2 separate regions of the Homo sapiens genome follow, and region 1 is linked to region 2. Evidence: promoter capture Hi-C in human tissues and cell types (Jung and others, 2019). All regions are on one chromosome and are shown on one strand. The core of a region is centred on a gene start or on the middle of the fragment in contact, and the rest is flanking DNA. Distances in the headings are between cores, read along the strand shown.

Region 1 (6,523 bases), core at 2,954-5,453, 160 kb after region 2:
AGACCAAGACTCAGGATTCCCCAAAGATTAGTGATCTGGGTTCTATAACCTTTTTAAAAACAATATGTCATTGTCTTCTTTAATCTATAGAGATCACAATTTTTTTAAATTATCACATAATATTACATTATATGGATATATTATAATTTGTATAATCCCTTATTGGCAGATAGTTATGTTATTTTCAGGTTTTCACAACAGAAAAAAGCAATATTATGAACATCTGTATTAATTTCCTAGGGCTGCCGTAACAAATTACCACAAACTGGGTAGCTTAAAAAACCAATTCAATTTCTTACAATTCAGGATGTCCACAGTTCAAAATCAAGGTGTCAGCAGGGGTGGTTCCTTCTAGAGCCCCTGAAGGAAAAATTGTGTCATGCTTCTCTCTCAGCTTCAGGTGGTTGCTAGCAATCTTTGGCATTCCTCACTTTGCCTTCTACTCTCTATGTCACTATGTTTTCTTCTAAGGATACCAATCACTGAACTTAAGGAATACTCTAATTCCAGTAGATTTAATCTCAAGATCCTTAATTATTAATGTATCTGCAAAGAGCTTATTTTCAATTAAGGTCACATTCTGAGGTTCCTGACAGACATGAACTTTGGGGAGACATTATACAACCACTAGAACATTCTTAAAAATATTTATTTGTTCATACATTTTGTTAAGTTCACAGGATGAATTCCCTAGGGTAGAATCTCCTCTTGGAGAAACTCCCCAGCTTCCCTCTAAGAATTTTCCTTTTAGCCTCTATTGGGGTAGGCAGCAAATTATAAGACCTTCCCCACTCCCTCATTCCCCTTGCCAAATCTCACACTAATCCCAGATTCTTTGTCTGGAAAATCAGAATTAGGACTCAAATAAAAATGATACTTTTTTGGATACTTATAGTGAAGGTAGTGTAAAGCTAAAGCTGAGGCTTCCATATTTAGGCCAAGTATATAAGGAATGAGAGAAAGCTGTTCTATAGAGGAAGAAGAAAAAGGCAGATGAGGCAGATAGTAGCAGACATTAAACACCATGGTAGTGTCAGAGGCATTTGAACCAGGGCAACTCCATCTTGAATACTGGCTGGATAAAATGAGGCTGAAATCTGCTGAGCTGCATTCTCAGGAGATTAGGCATTCATAATCACGGAACAAGACAGGAGGTCAGCAGGATGGGATTTTGGCTGATAAAGAAGCCAGCCAAAATCCATCAAAACCAAGATGGCAAAAAAAGTGACCTCTGGCCCTGGCACTGCTAATCATATGCTAATTATAATGCATTAGCATGCGAAAAGACACTCCCACCAGTGCCACGACAGTTTGCAAATGTCATGGCAACGTCTGGAAGTTACCTTATATAGTCCAGAAGAGGGAGGAACCCTCAGTTCCAGGAATTGCCCGCCCCTTTCCTGGAAAACTCATAAATAACTCACTCCTTGTTTAGCATATAATTAATAAATAACCATAAAAATAGCCAACCAGCAGCCCTCAGGGTTGCTCTGCCCTTGGAGAAGCCATTCTTTTATTCCTTTACTTTCTTAATAAACTTGCTTTCGATTTACATGGACTTGCCTGGAATTCTTTCTTGCGCAAGATCCAAGAACCCTCTCTTGGGGTCTGGATTGGGTAACAGTAGCAGAGACTGTAGAGAGTAATCTTAATAACTATAAACAATTTTAATCAGAAAAATGGTCATTGTTTCTGATTTTCCTATAATCACGTAAGTATTCATCCATGTAACTTAATAATCTTTGAAAATACAATTTCGATGGCAGCATAATGTTCTATCATATAATAATCACTTAATCATTATATTTGTGGGTGCATTACACAGTACAACCAAACTACTTTCCAGAATGGTTGGACCAATTATAATCCTATTAGCAGTACATAACGGTGACTGGTTCACATATTAACTTCAGTAACATTGAACAATATAATGTCTTACTTTAAGAGGTAGAAAACTATATATTATTACTTTTTAATTTACATTTCTCTGGGTTACTAAACTATTTATATGTTTATTATTTTCTGTTTATTAATGGTATATTTTCTTTGGCGAAATGTTTATCCAAGTTACTTAACCACCTTGCGCCTTAATTTTCTCCTCTGTAGATTAGGCATAATACCTATTATGATGATGAAATATTGCAAAAGTGAATTGAGTAAGCAAGGAATAAATGTTAGTTCTCTTTTAAAGAGTTTATTCTACAATGAGATAAAACACCTTTATTCTGATAGGGTGAAATATCTTAGAAAAACATACAGTCTATAATAATTTGTTAGAAAAAATAATAGATTCAATGGAATTATATGTAGTCTTTTTTCAGAAAGCAGTAAGAAATAGTTACTCTTAAGTAACTTATCTGTGAAAATCATAATTTTTTATTATTATTATTATACTTTATGTACTGGGACACATGTGCAGAACGTGCAGGTTTGTTACATAGTTATACATGTGCCATGGTGGTTTGCTGCACCTATCAACCGGTCATCTACATTAGGTATTTCTCCTAATGCTATCCCTCCCCTTGCCCCCCACCCCCCAACAGGCCCCAGTGTGTGGTGATGTTCCCCTCCCTGTGCCCATATGTTCTCATTGTTCAACTCTCACTTATGAGTGAGAACATGTGGTGTTTGATTTTCTGTTCCTGTGCTAGTTTGCTGAGAATGATTCTTTCCAGCTTCATCCATGTCCTGGCAACAGATATGAACTAATTCTTTTTTATGGCTGCATAGTATTCCATGGTGTATATATGTCACATTTTCTTTATCCAGTCTATCATTGATGGGCATCTGGGTTGGTTCCAAGTCTTTGCTATTGTGAATAGTGCTGCAATAAACATACGTGTGCATGTGTCTTTATAGTAGAATGATTTATAATCCTTTGGGTACATACCCAGTAATGGGATTGCTGGGTCAAATGGTATTTCTGGTTCTAGATCCTTGAGGAATCGCCACACTGTCTTCCACAATGGTTGAACTAATTTACACTCCCACCAACAGTGTAAAAGCGTTCCTATTTTTCCACATCCTCTCCAGCATCTATTGTTTCCTGACTTTTTAATGATTGCCATTCTAACTGGCGTGAGATGGTATCTCATTGTGGTTTTGATTTGCATTTCTCTAATGACCGGTGATGATTAGCTTTTTTTCATATGTTTGTTGGCCATATAAATGTCTTCTTTTGAAAAGTGTCTGCTCACATCCTTTGCCCGCTTTTTGATGGGGTTGTTTTTTTTCTTGTAAATTTGTTTAAGTTCCTTGTAGATTCTGGATATTAGCCCTTTGTCAGATGGATAGATTGCAAAAATTTTCTCCCATTTTTAAGATTGCCTGTTCACTCTGATGATAGTTTCTTTTGCTGTGCAGAAGTTCTTTAGTTTAATTAGATCCCATTTGTCAATTTTGGCTTTTGTTGCCATTGCTTTTGGTGTTTTAGTCATGAAGTCTTTGCCCATACCTATGTTCTGAATGGTATTGCCTAGGTTTTCTTCTAGGGTTTTTGTGGTTTTAGGTTTTACATTTAACTGTTTAATCCAGCTTGAGTTAATTTTTGTACAAGGTGTAAGGAAGGGGTCCAGTTTCAGTTTTCTGCATATGGCTAGCCAGTTTTCCTAACACCATTTATTAAATGGGGAATCCTTTCCCCCATTTCTTGTTTTTGTCAGGTTTGTCAAAGATCAGATGGTTGTAGATGTGTGGTGTTATTTCTGAGGCCTCTGTTCTGTTCCATTGGTCTATATATCTGTTTTGGTACCAGTACCATGCTGTTTTGGTTACTGTAGCCTTGTAGTATAGTTTGAAGTCAGGTAGAATGATGCCTCCAGCTTTGTTCTTTTTGCTTAGGATTGTCTTGGCTATATGGGCTCTTTTTTGGTTCCATATGAAATTTAAAGTTGTTTTTTTCTAATTCTGTGAAGAAAGTCAATAGTTTTTTATATTTATTCAAATAAAAGCTTGATGGGAATAGCATTGAATCTATAAACTACTTTGGGCAGTATGGCCATTTTCACAATATTGATTCTTTCTATCTGTGAGCATGGAATGTTTTTCCATTTGTTTGTGTCCTCTCTTATTTCCTTGAGCAGTGGTTTGTAGTTCTCCTTGAAGAGGTACTTCACATCCCTTGTAAGTTATATTCCTAGGTATTTCATTCTCTTTGTAGAAATTGTGAATGGGAGTTCCCTCATGATTTGGCTCTCTGTTTGTCTACTATTGGTGTATAGGGATGCTTGTGATTTCTGCACATTTTGTATCCTGAGACTTTGCTGAAGTTGCTTATCAGCTTAAGGAGTTTTTGGGCTGAGACGATGGGGTTTTCTAATATACAATCATATTATTATTATAATACAATCATATGTTTTCTAAATATAAAATCATACTATTTCTAAATATACAATCATATTTTCTAAATATACAATCATACAATCAAGATGGAGTCTTGCTCTGTCGCCCAGGCTAGAGTGCAGTGGCACGATCTCAGCTCACTGCAACCTCCACCTCCCAGGTTCAAGTGATTCTCCTACCTCAGCCTCCCAAGTAGCTGGGATTACAGGCATGTGCCACCATGCCCAGTTAATTTTTTTATTTTTAGTAGAGACAGGGTTTCACCATGTTGGCCAGGCTGGTCTCGAACCCCTGACTTCAGGTGATCCACTTGCCTTGGCCTCCCAGGGTGCTGGGATTACAGGCGTCAGCCACTGTGCCCGGCAAAAATTATAATTTGTATATAATGACAAGCAACAATAGCTTTATAAAACTAGAACTTATTGGCTTATTTTTATTTTTATTTTTTGAGACAGGATCTCACTGTGTCGCCCAGGCTGGAGTGCAGTGGTATGATCTCAGCTCACTGCAAGCTCTCCCTCCTGGGTTCAAGTGACTCTCCTGCCTCAGCCTACCAAGAAGCTGGGACTATAGGCATGCATCACCATGCCCGGCTAATTTTTGTATTTTTTGGTGGAGACTGGCTTTCACTGTGTTGGCCAGGCTAGTCTTGAACTCCTGCCTCAAGTGATCCACCTACATTGGCCTCCCAAAGCACTGGGATTACAGGTGTGAGCCACTGTGCCCGGCTTTATTGGCTTATTTTATCCAATTCAAAAATAATCTTGTAAATCTGAACAGTCAGAAATCAAGGTGAAAACAATAAAAGCACTCAAGAAAATCACATACATACATATTACTTAATGTGCCCATGAGTTTAACAGTCATCCTTATTGGAAACAATATGAAAGAGAACCACAAAAATAGAGATATAAACACAGCATGTCCACTAAGAACAAATCAGCTAAATAACACTAGTTTCACAATAAATTTGCTTGAAATAGTGTCTAGTGAGCTGTGATCTACAGAAGACTTTCAAGTGCAGAAGCTATAACCAGATAACACAAAAGGTGCTGTGATGGGGCCACTGATCACACTCATAAGAACTAGTTCCTGGGCCTATCATAAAGAATGCTTGTTTCCTGAATTTGTACCTCATTGGAGGGATTCACTTTAAAGTGATAGGAGAAGCTTTAAATAATTGGGGTATTAAACTGGCTGTCTAATGTAAGTTGATGATCCAATCCTGTAAAAAAGGGTGAAAAAAAACAGTGAGAGAAGTGAATTAAGTATCTATTTTGCACCAGATGCTATACAACGTGACGCTTTTTTTTCAATTGAAGAAACTGTAAAATTCAGAATAAAGAATAATGTAACAAATAGGCTCATGCCTAAGAATTTATCATTGTTTATATTTTGTTATGTCTCTATCAAGCTTTTATTTGAATGAATACAAAAATCTATTGTAGATAAAGTCATGTCCAGGCATGGCGGCTCATGCCTATAATCTCAACACTTTGGGAGGCCAAGGTGGGGGGACTGCTTGAGCTCAGGAGTTCAAGATGAGCCTGAGCAACATAGTGAGATCCCATCTCAATATTTAAAATAAAAATAAAATAAAATAATACAAAAAAAAGTCAAAGTGTAATTGCCTGAGGGGTTCTTCTTGCCCACTGCACAGACAAAACCAGCTCACTGACACCATGGTACTGCAGTAAAGAAAGATTTTAACTGATGTGAGGCTGGCCACACGGAAGACAGAGTTATTACTCAAATTAGCCTCTCTGAAGGCTTGGAGGTTAGGGATTTTCAAGGATAATTTGGTGGGCAGGGAACTAGGGAATGGGTGCTGCTGATTGGTTGGAGATACAATCATAGGGGTGTGGAAAACAATCCTCTTGTGCTGAGTCTGTCTCTGGTTAGGGGGTGACAGGACCAGTTGAGTTATGAATCTCAATGCCAGAATGCAAAAATCTGAATTTCAAGTACCAATACTAGGAGTAATCAGAGAAGTCACAAATGTGTGTCCTCTGGCCTGTGACTCCTGAGCAGTAAGGGATTACAGAAATTACATCTATACTTGAGCAGAATTCAGGCCCCTCCCATAATCCTAATCTTGTGGCCTTTCATTAGTCTTACAAAGGCAGTTTCAGCCCCTGAACAAGCAGGGGATCAGTTATAGGGAGGGAATATTATCCTTGCT
Region 2 (6,597 bases), core at 956-3,455:
AAGTTCTCCGCCTCAAGGTCATAGGCAAGTAGGAAGGTACAGAGATGGTCTCAGCCAAGAGAAAGAACAGACACATGATTTAGGCCCTGCAGGTAGGAGAGGGTGCCCACTGAGGGCGCAGGAGGCCTCCTGTTTGGGGACCAGGACTCCAGGGCTGATCTGACAGCCTGCCAGGAAAGCAGGCGCAGAAGCAGACAGAGACAGTGCTGGCCTGGGAGCAGTGTCCCAGATGTCACCCACAAAAACCCACAGGCATCTCACAACCACCCTGTCCAACAGTCAACTTACTCCCAACCTGCTCCACCCCCAATGGTGGTCCCCATCTCACAGAGGCAGCCCCACCTACCTTCCCCCAGCACTGGGACCCTGTGTAGCCCCTTAGCCCCTGGGCACCTCCTGCCCCCAGCACCCCTGCTCTGGGAAACTTTATCAGGGTCCCTCCTCCCCTGCCAAGCCTAGCCCTGGGTGGGGAGCAGAGGAGAGCAGAAGGGAGGGCCCTCTCCCTGCTTTGGCCTCCTCCTTATAGCCCTCAGTGGAAGCCCACCCACTACTGCAGCCAAAGGTGGCCCTTCTTGGACACACATCTGACCTATCTAATCCGCAATCCACCCCACCAGCATTCATTTTCACACTGCCAGGCCTTTACTCATGCTGTTCCTTGGGGCTGCAATGACCTGCCTTTTCTTTTCTGCTTGGTGGATTTCAAGACCCAGCCCCAACGAATCTGCAAGTGAACTCATCCCCAGCTCCCGGGCACCCATCAGTCCCTGTCTTGTGCTCCCAGCACTGGGTACAACTCTGGACAGGGCCTTATCTGTGGACCCACTGCCTGTCTTGTCAGAAGAGAGGCTCCTCAGGGCAAAGACCCCGCCTGAGCACCTCTGTGTGCTGGCAACTAGCCTGACCTGGCCTGCAGCAGCAGCTGGGCCCACCATACCCTGCCCAGGAGGCAAAGGCAGCCACACCACCCCACCCCCAGACCCTGGGGACAGGAGCAAGGACCAGCCCGAGGACCCTGGGAGGTGTCAATCCTTGCAAAACACAGTGGTTCCCCCAGCAGGCCTCAGACTCATTGAGTTGGCTGAGCCTCACCCGTAAGCCCCTCTCTTCCAAGAAGTCTGCCCAGATCTCTCTTTCCCCTGAGTCCTGGGATAGTCGCCCTCAGTACTTTTCTCTCTAAACCACAGGTGTAGGGAGAAGATTCTGGGATGAGAGCCAGGCGGACCCGGGTTCAAATTCTGGCTCAGCAATCCTGAGAGGGCAGCTGACTTCGCTTCTCTGTGCCCCACTCTTCTGATCTGTATGGAACTTGGGGGTGAATCCCACCACATGAAATGACTGGGAGAGAGAACGTCGCACCTGTTAATGATCTTTTGTCCTATTTCGCCTCTGGTCCCCTAGGCCAGTCTTCCGAGACCCCCAACGCAAAGGAACAGAGGTGGGAACTCTGAGGTCTGAGAAACAAAGATCCATTCCCTCCCAGACCACTCCCCCACACTCCCGCAACACACACACACACACACACACACACACACACACACACGTGCGCCCGCCCTGCAGTCAAGGAGAAAAGCCCCCTTTCAACCTGGGGAGTAGTGCCAAGAAGCGGATAGGCTGGGGCAGTAGGAGCCTCGGCCCTGCCCCTTCCCCAGGCCTGGGTGGTGGAGCACCCAGAAGGGGTTGGTGGATTGCAGGGATGAAAGGGGGGTTAAGCAGGGAAGAGAAGGGGGGAACTGTAAGGAAGATGAGAGGAAGTGACAGTCTAGCCCCGGGTGTTAGGCGCTTCCAGCGCGTCCGCACTAGGAAAACGACTCGGAGACACCCAGAGGGAGGTGAAAAAAAGACTCCTCGCCGGGGGTGGGGGTGGGGACGAGCCGAGGGGGCCCAGGCGGATGCTCCAGGACCCCGCCCCCCAGCCAGCGCTCACTTCCTTTCCCCCCGGGCCCGCGGGAGGTGCAGCCCCCTCCACTGATTCGTGGTCCCGGAGCAATCACTGGCCCGCGCTGCACCCGCACACACCCCCCCGAAACACACACACACACACACACAGAAGCACACGCCTCCCTCCGCCCGCCTCCTACCGGCCGAGCCGCCGCGGGTCCAGCCGGGCTCCCGGGATGCAGGGCACGGCGCGGGCGCTGGAGCGGAGGCTGCAGCCGCCCGGCGCAGCAGCCTCGGGCTCTGGCCGGAGATCCAGCTGGGACTGGCCTGCGGCGGGGGCTGGCGCTCGCATTCCCCGGGTTCGGCCAGCTGGGCCCGGCTCCGCCCCGCCCCGCCCGCGGCCTCCGCCCATTTGCCCGTTGCGAGCCGGAGGCGTGGTCTCCCGTGGGGCGGGGTGGGCGGCCCGGTGGCCGGGTGCGCCCATGCGCACTGGTGCGGTGGGCGGCCGCTCAGAGGAGCGGTCTCATTCCAGCCCCTGTGTTGAACGCGGACTTGGGGCCCCTAGCGGCACCCACCGCCTCTACCGGCTCGGTCGGGCCCTCGTTCTCTCTCCTTCCCAGCCTATCTGTCTGCGGTTGGTGCGCATCCCCATGGGCAGCCTCCCAAGGGCTGGCTGCACCGTGAGGGATCGGGCCGGGGCTGGGGTTCAGCCCCCACAGGGCGGGCCGGGGCCGCGGCTGACTTGGGGCCGGCGTGTAGTACCGAGGACCCGCAAGGGCCAGGGTGCCTGCCAGAACCAGGACTTGGTGGGCGGCGCCCCTCCCTTTCCGGGCTCCACCTTCACATCCATCCCAAGTGTTCGGATGGAGAAGTGGGAGCCCAGGCCCCTGTGAGCAGCAGAGGGCCTCTGTCAGATGGGAAAACTGACCCCGGCCCGTGTTGAGGACTTAATCCCGTGCTGCCATGGGCTCCCGGGCTCGGGCTCATGTTTGACTCTCTGTCCGTGACTGGCTACCGGAATGCCCTGGGATGGCACGGAGCCTGCATTTCCTGATCTGTAAAACGGGGACTATAATCTCTACCCACCCCAGGCCGCTTGGGGAATCCGATAGAGAAGGTTTAGGAGTGACTAGTTCTTGCCTACAGTAGGAGCTCAGGGGTGCCACCACCCCCCGCCCTGAGGCAGCAGGACAGACGCCCATCTGATCTGATGAGCCCATCGGCCCACTCGCTGGTGGAGCGTCTCAGGCCCGTTCATTCTCCGCCTCCAATTTGTTTCGAAGTCTCAGTTAATGATTTCGTCAACCTCTTGTGTTACCGAAACAAACTTGGGTCCGCCCACCCAGTGCAGCAAAGCCAAACACTGACACCAGGATTTGCAGCGGCAGAAAGGGAGGCATTTATTGCAGGGTGCCAAGCAAGGAGAATAGGTCGGCTAATGCTTAAGACCCGTACTCCCCAATGGTTTACATGTAAGGCTTTTTAAAGGTGGGGAGACAGAGGTTATAGGCAAAGTCATAAATAAATACTCTGGAGCTATACATTGGCTTGGCCCAAAAAGGTGAGACATTTTGAGGCAGGGTCATAGGTGGATTCAGAGATTCTGTGATTTGCAATTGGCTTAGGAAGCAAGACTGTCTAAAAACCTGGGGTCCACAGATAGGAGAGTTAAGCATTGGCTTATGGGTGTGACTCTTTACAGAACCCTTGGGAAGAAATTTAAAGAACAGCCCTCAGTTTCCCCTTATCTGAGGCCTAAGTGACAGCTGTGAAAAACAATTCAGGGACATAGGTCAAGATGTTATCTTTAGTTTCTATAGGGAACCAGACATCTTGTGGCTCTAACTTATTTGGGTGGCCCTTGTTTGAAGCTTCAATTACCTTCTTGCTTGTCAAGGTGCTCATTTACTTCTCAAAGCTAGCTAGCTGCCTGAAATTCCCCCTGAAAAGACTCATGATTTTCCTTTATTTCCACTAAGAGGAGTCTCTGCCTCACCTCACTCTCAGTCACCTGGACTTCTCTAGCTTCTCCCCAACCTCCCTGCCTCTGTCCCAGGCCACCCAGATGCTTCTCCCTTAAGAGTAGCCCCAGCCCCCTCAGGAGCCTCCTATCCAACCAAAGAAGACTTTCACATATGCAGCTGAGACCCGCCACCCATAGAAGAGTGTTCTAAGACTGCACCCCATCTGACTCCCCCATCTCCCCTAACCTTATTCCATGCCCTGTACTGGGAGCAGCAGCTTCACCAGCCCTTCAAAAGTCACTTCAGGGGCTCTACTCTCCCCACCTGAAACCATGCCCGTGCTGATCTGTGGCCGTCTGAAGGACTCTTCCTTCCTCCCTGTGCTGCAGCATCCCAAAGCTCCCTTGCTCAGCATCCACCCCTCACCTATGGCCCTTCTCAGGCTGCGTCTCTCAGAGTTGCTGGTGGGGCCAAGGTTTCCCCTGCAAGGCCAAAGTTCCTGGAGGGCAGAGGCCAAGGGTCATTGTCAGGAAGACAGCAGCACTTGGTAGAGCCAAGTAGATCTGGGCTCCAGTCCTCACTCTGCCAGTTACTGGCTGTGTGATCTGGGCAGGTCCTCTATCCTTTTCCCTGTCTGTAAAATGGGCTTCTAGCTGGAGTGTGTGATGACCAGGTACAGGCAAGTCACGGGGATCGATAAAGGCCCGGTTGTGTAGGATACTGGGCAGCATTGTCTCTGGGCTGGGCAACTCCCATGTGTTCCAAGGTGGGGCTGGGGTTGTGTCTGAGAAGGCATGTTTGCCTCAGCCCACAAAACAGTGGGGTTCAGAGGATGCTCAGACCCCCTTCTGTATCTCAAAGCATTGGAGCCACAAGAGGGTATTGTGCAGTAGTTGCAAGCATGGGCTCTGCCTGGGCTCATATTAGCTGAGTGACCTCAGACAAGTGACCCAACCTCACTGTGCCAGTATCCTCTCCTATAAAGCCAGCATAGCAACAGTCGCACCATGGAGTTGTTGTGGGATTAAATGGGCCGGGACATACGGAGCCCTCATGGTTGCCCTTTGCTTGGAGTAAGAGCTCAGCATGTGCTAGCTGGTGTTATTGTCATCTGGCCCAGCCCCTCATTTTGTGAAGACATTGAGTCCCAGAAGCAGAGACATGCACTCATGGCCAGTGAGAAGCCCAGCCACCCTAGCAGGTTAGCACTGGAAGGGCCCAGTCCTTTAATCATCTCCAGCAGCTCCACCTTCTCCGACAGGTGAGGAAAGAGGCCTAGCGAGAGTGACCTGCCCAGGACACCCACCCTGGTGGCCGGGTGGAGAGAGCATTGGCCCTGCTCTTGGGGGAGAGAGAGGTCCCCAAGATAGGCCAGGAAGAGCCAGATCTGCCCAACAAGGTTGGGGAAAAGGTGGGACTTTGATGATGCTCTGGCCCGGGATCCTGCTGGTCAGTTTTTGTAAACTGAGTCATCTAATGGTACCATCGCAGGGCCTGATGTGGAGGTGCACTTCCCATTTCTCACAACCGCCCTCTGCAGCAGCTCTGATTAGTCCATTTTCCAGATGACAGAACCAAGCCTCAGGGAGATGCCCCAGGTCACACAATTAGTAACTGGAATCCAAACCTACCCTGTCTGACTCCACTCTTGTGGCCTTTCCCTCCCCTCTTCCTATCTCCTCCAGGAAAAGGTCACCTCTGCAGGCTCCTTGACTGGCTGTCCCACCTCTGCTTGCATGCCACTGTAACTGGGAACTCATTTCCTCATAGCACAACCCTTTCTCCTCTACCTGGGAGAGCTTTTGTCACCCAGAGCTGATCCACCCCTCTCTTCCTGGTTCTGCCAGACTCTATACCCTCTATCTTACCAGAGCCTAGAGACAGAATCTTCTCTGCCCAGGTTAGAAAACCCCTATCTTCACTGCTCCTGTGTGTAATAGGATTTCCCAGGTGAAACTTATGATAATCATGTTTTTTTTAACCCCAACAGACCTAATTGTCTAGCTATTGTGTGGGAACCCTAAAGGAAGCCATGGCATGGGGAGTGGCTCAAAGTGGAGGCTCCTAAGGCTTGGTGTCTCTAGGAGGAATATTAAAAATCACCCTGTTAACCAGTTCATTCCATTCTCATCTGGCCAGCTCAGGTGAGTGGGGGGCAGGTCAAGATTGCAGGGTGAGAAGGCCCATCAGACACAGAACTTTCAATGGGGAATAGTTGCTAATGGTGCTCCCCTGTGTGGTCAAAAATGGGAGCTCACAAGGGACTCCAGGGCAGAACAGGTATGATGGAAATTGGGATATTGAGACAAGATGACCTCTGAGTTGTTTTCAAGTGCATCCTTCTCTGAAACACTGCTTATATTTTGTTACTATCCTGGATATTATTAAAAACCAGTCAGACCAAGGGGATTTATTCCAAGAATGCAAGGTTGATTTTTTTTTTTGAGACAGAGTTTTGCTCTTGTCACCAAGGCTGGAGTGCAGTGGCGTGATCTCAGCTCACTGCATGCAACCTTCACCTCCCGGGTTCAAGCGATTCTCCTGCCTCAACCTCCAGAGTAGCTTTAATATTAGAAAAATCCATCCATTAATAACATTGCTTTAGTTTCCTAGGGCTGCCATAATGACAAGCTGGGCGGCTTAAACCACAGAAATGTATTGTCTCAGTCCTGGAGGCTAGAAGTTCAAGATAAAGGTATCCCTAATTCTGATAAAGGTATCATCAGGGTCAATTCCTTCTATGGGATCCAAT

The links. The method cuts DNA at HindIII sites, captures the fragments that hold promoters and counts their contacts. A contact is called where the count stands out against the background at its distance.
Region 1: a fragment that was not itself captured here is called in contact with the fragment with the promoter of CAPN5 in region 2 in 1 of the 25 tissues and cell types used here (bladder).

What each region holds. Positions count from the first base shown.
Region 1 is chr11:76,906,137-76,912,659 of GRCh38, reverse strand. All of the region lies in intron 1 of ACER3 (alkaline ceramidase 3), which reads right to left. Among named protein-coding and RNA genes, the nearest start is that of ACER3, 48 kb to the right of the region's middle. RefSeq lists an enhancer at 1,221-1,515. The HindIII fragment of the contact is 4,759 bases long and covers 1,824-6,523 here.
Region 2 is chr11:77,062,579-77,069,175 of GRCh38, reverse strand. It overlaps CAPN5 (calpain 5), which reads right to left and starts at 2,205. Exons shown (of 13, transcript NM_004055.5): 1 at 2,082-2,205. It overlaps LOC105369400 (a long non-coding RNA gene), which reads left to right and starts at 5,453. Exons shown (of 3, transcript XR_950341.1): 1 at 5,453-5,989. RefSeq lists a silencer at 2,000-2,689 and an enhancer at 2,546-3,046. The HindIII fragment of the contact is 16,009 bases long and covers 1-5,897 here.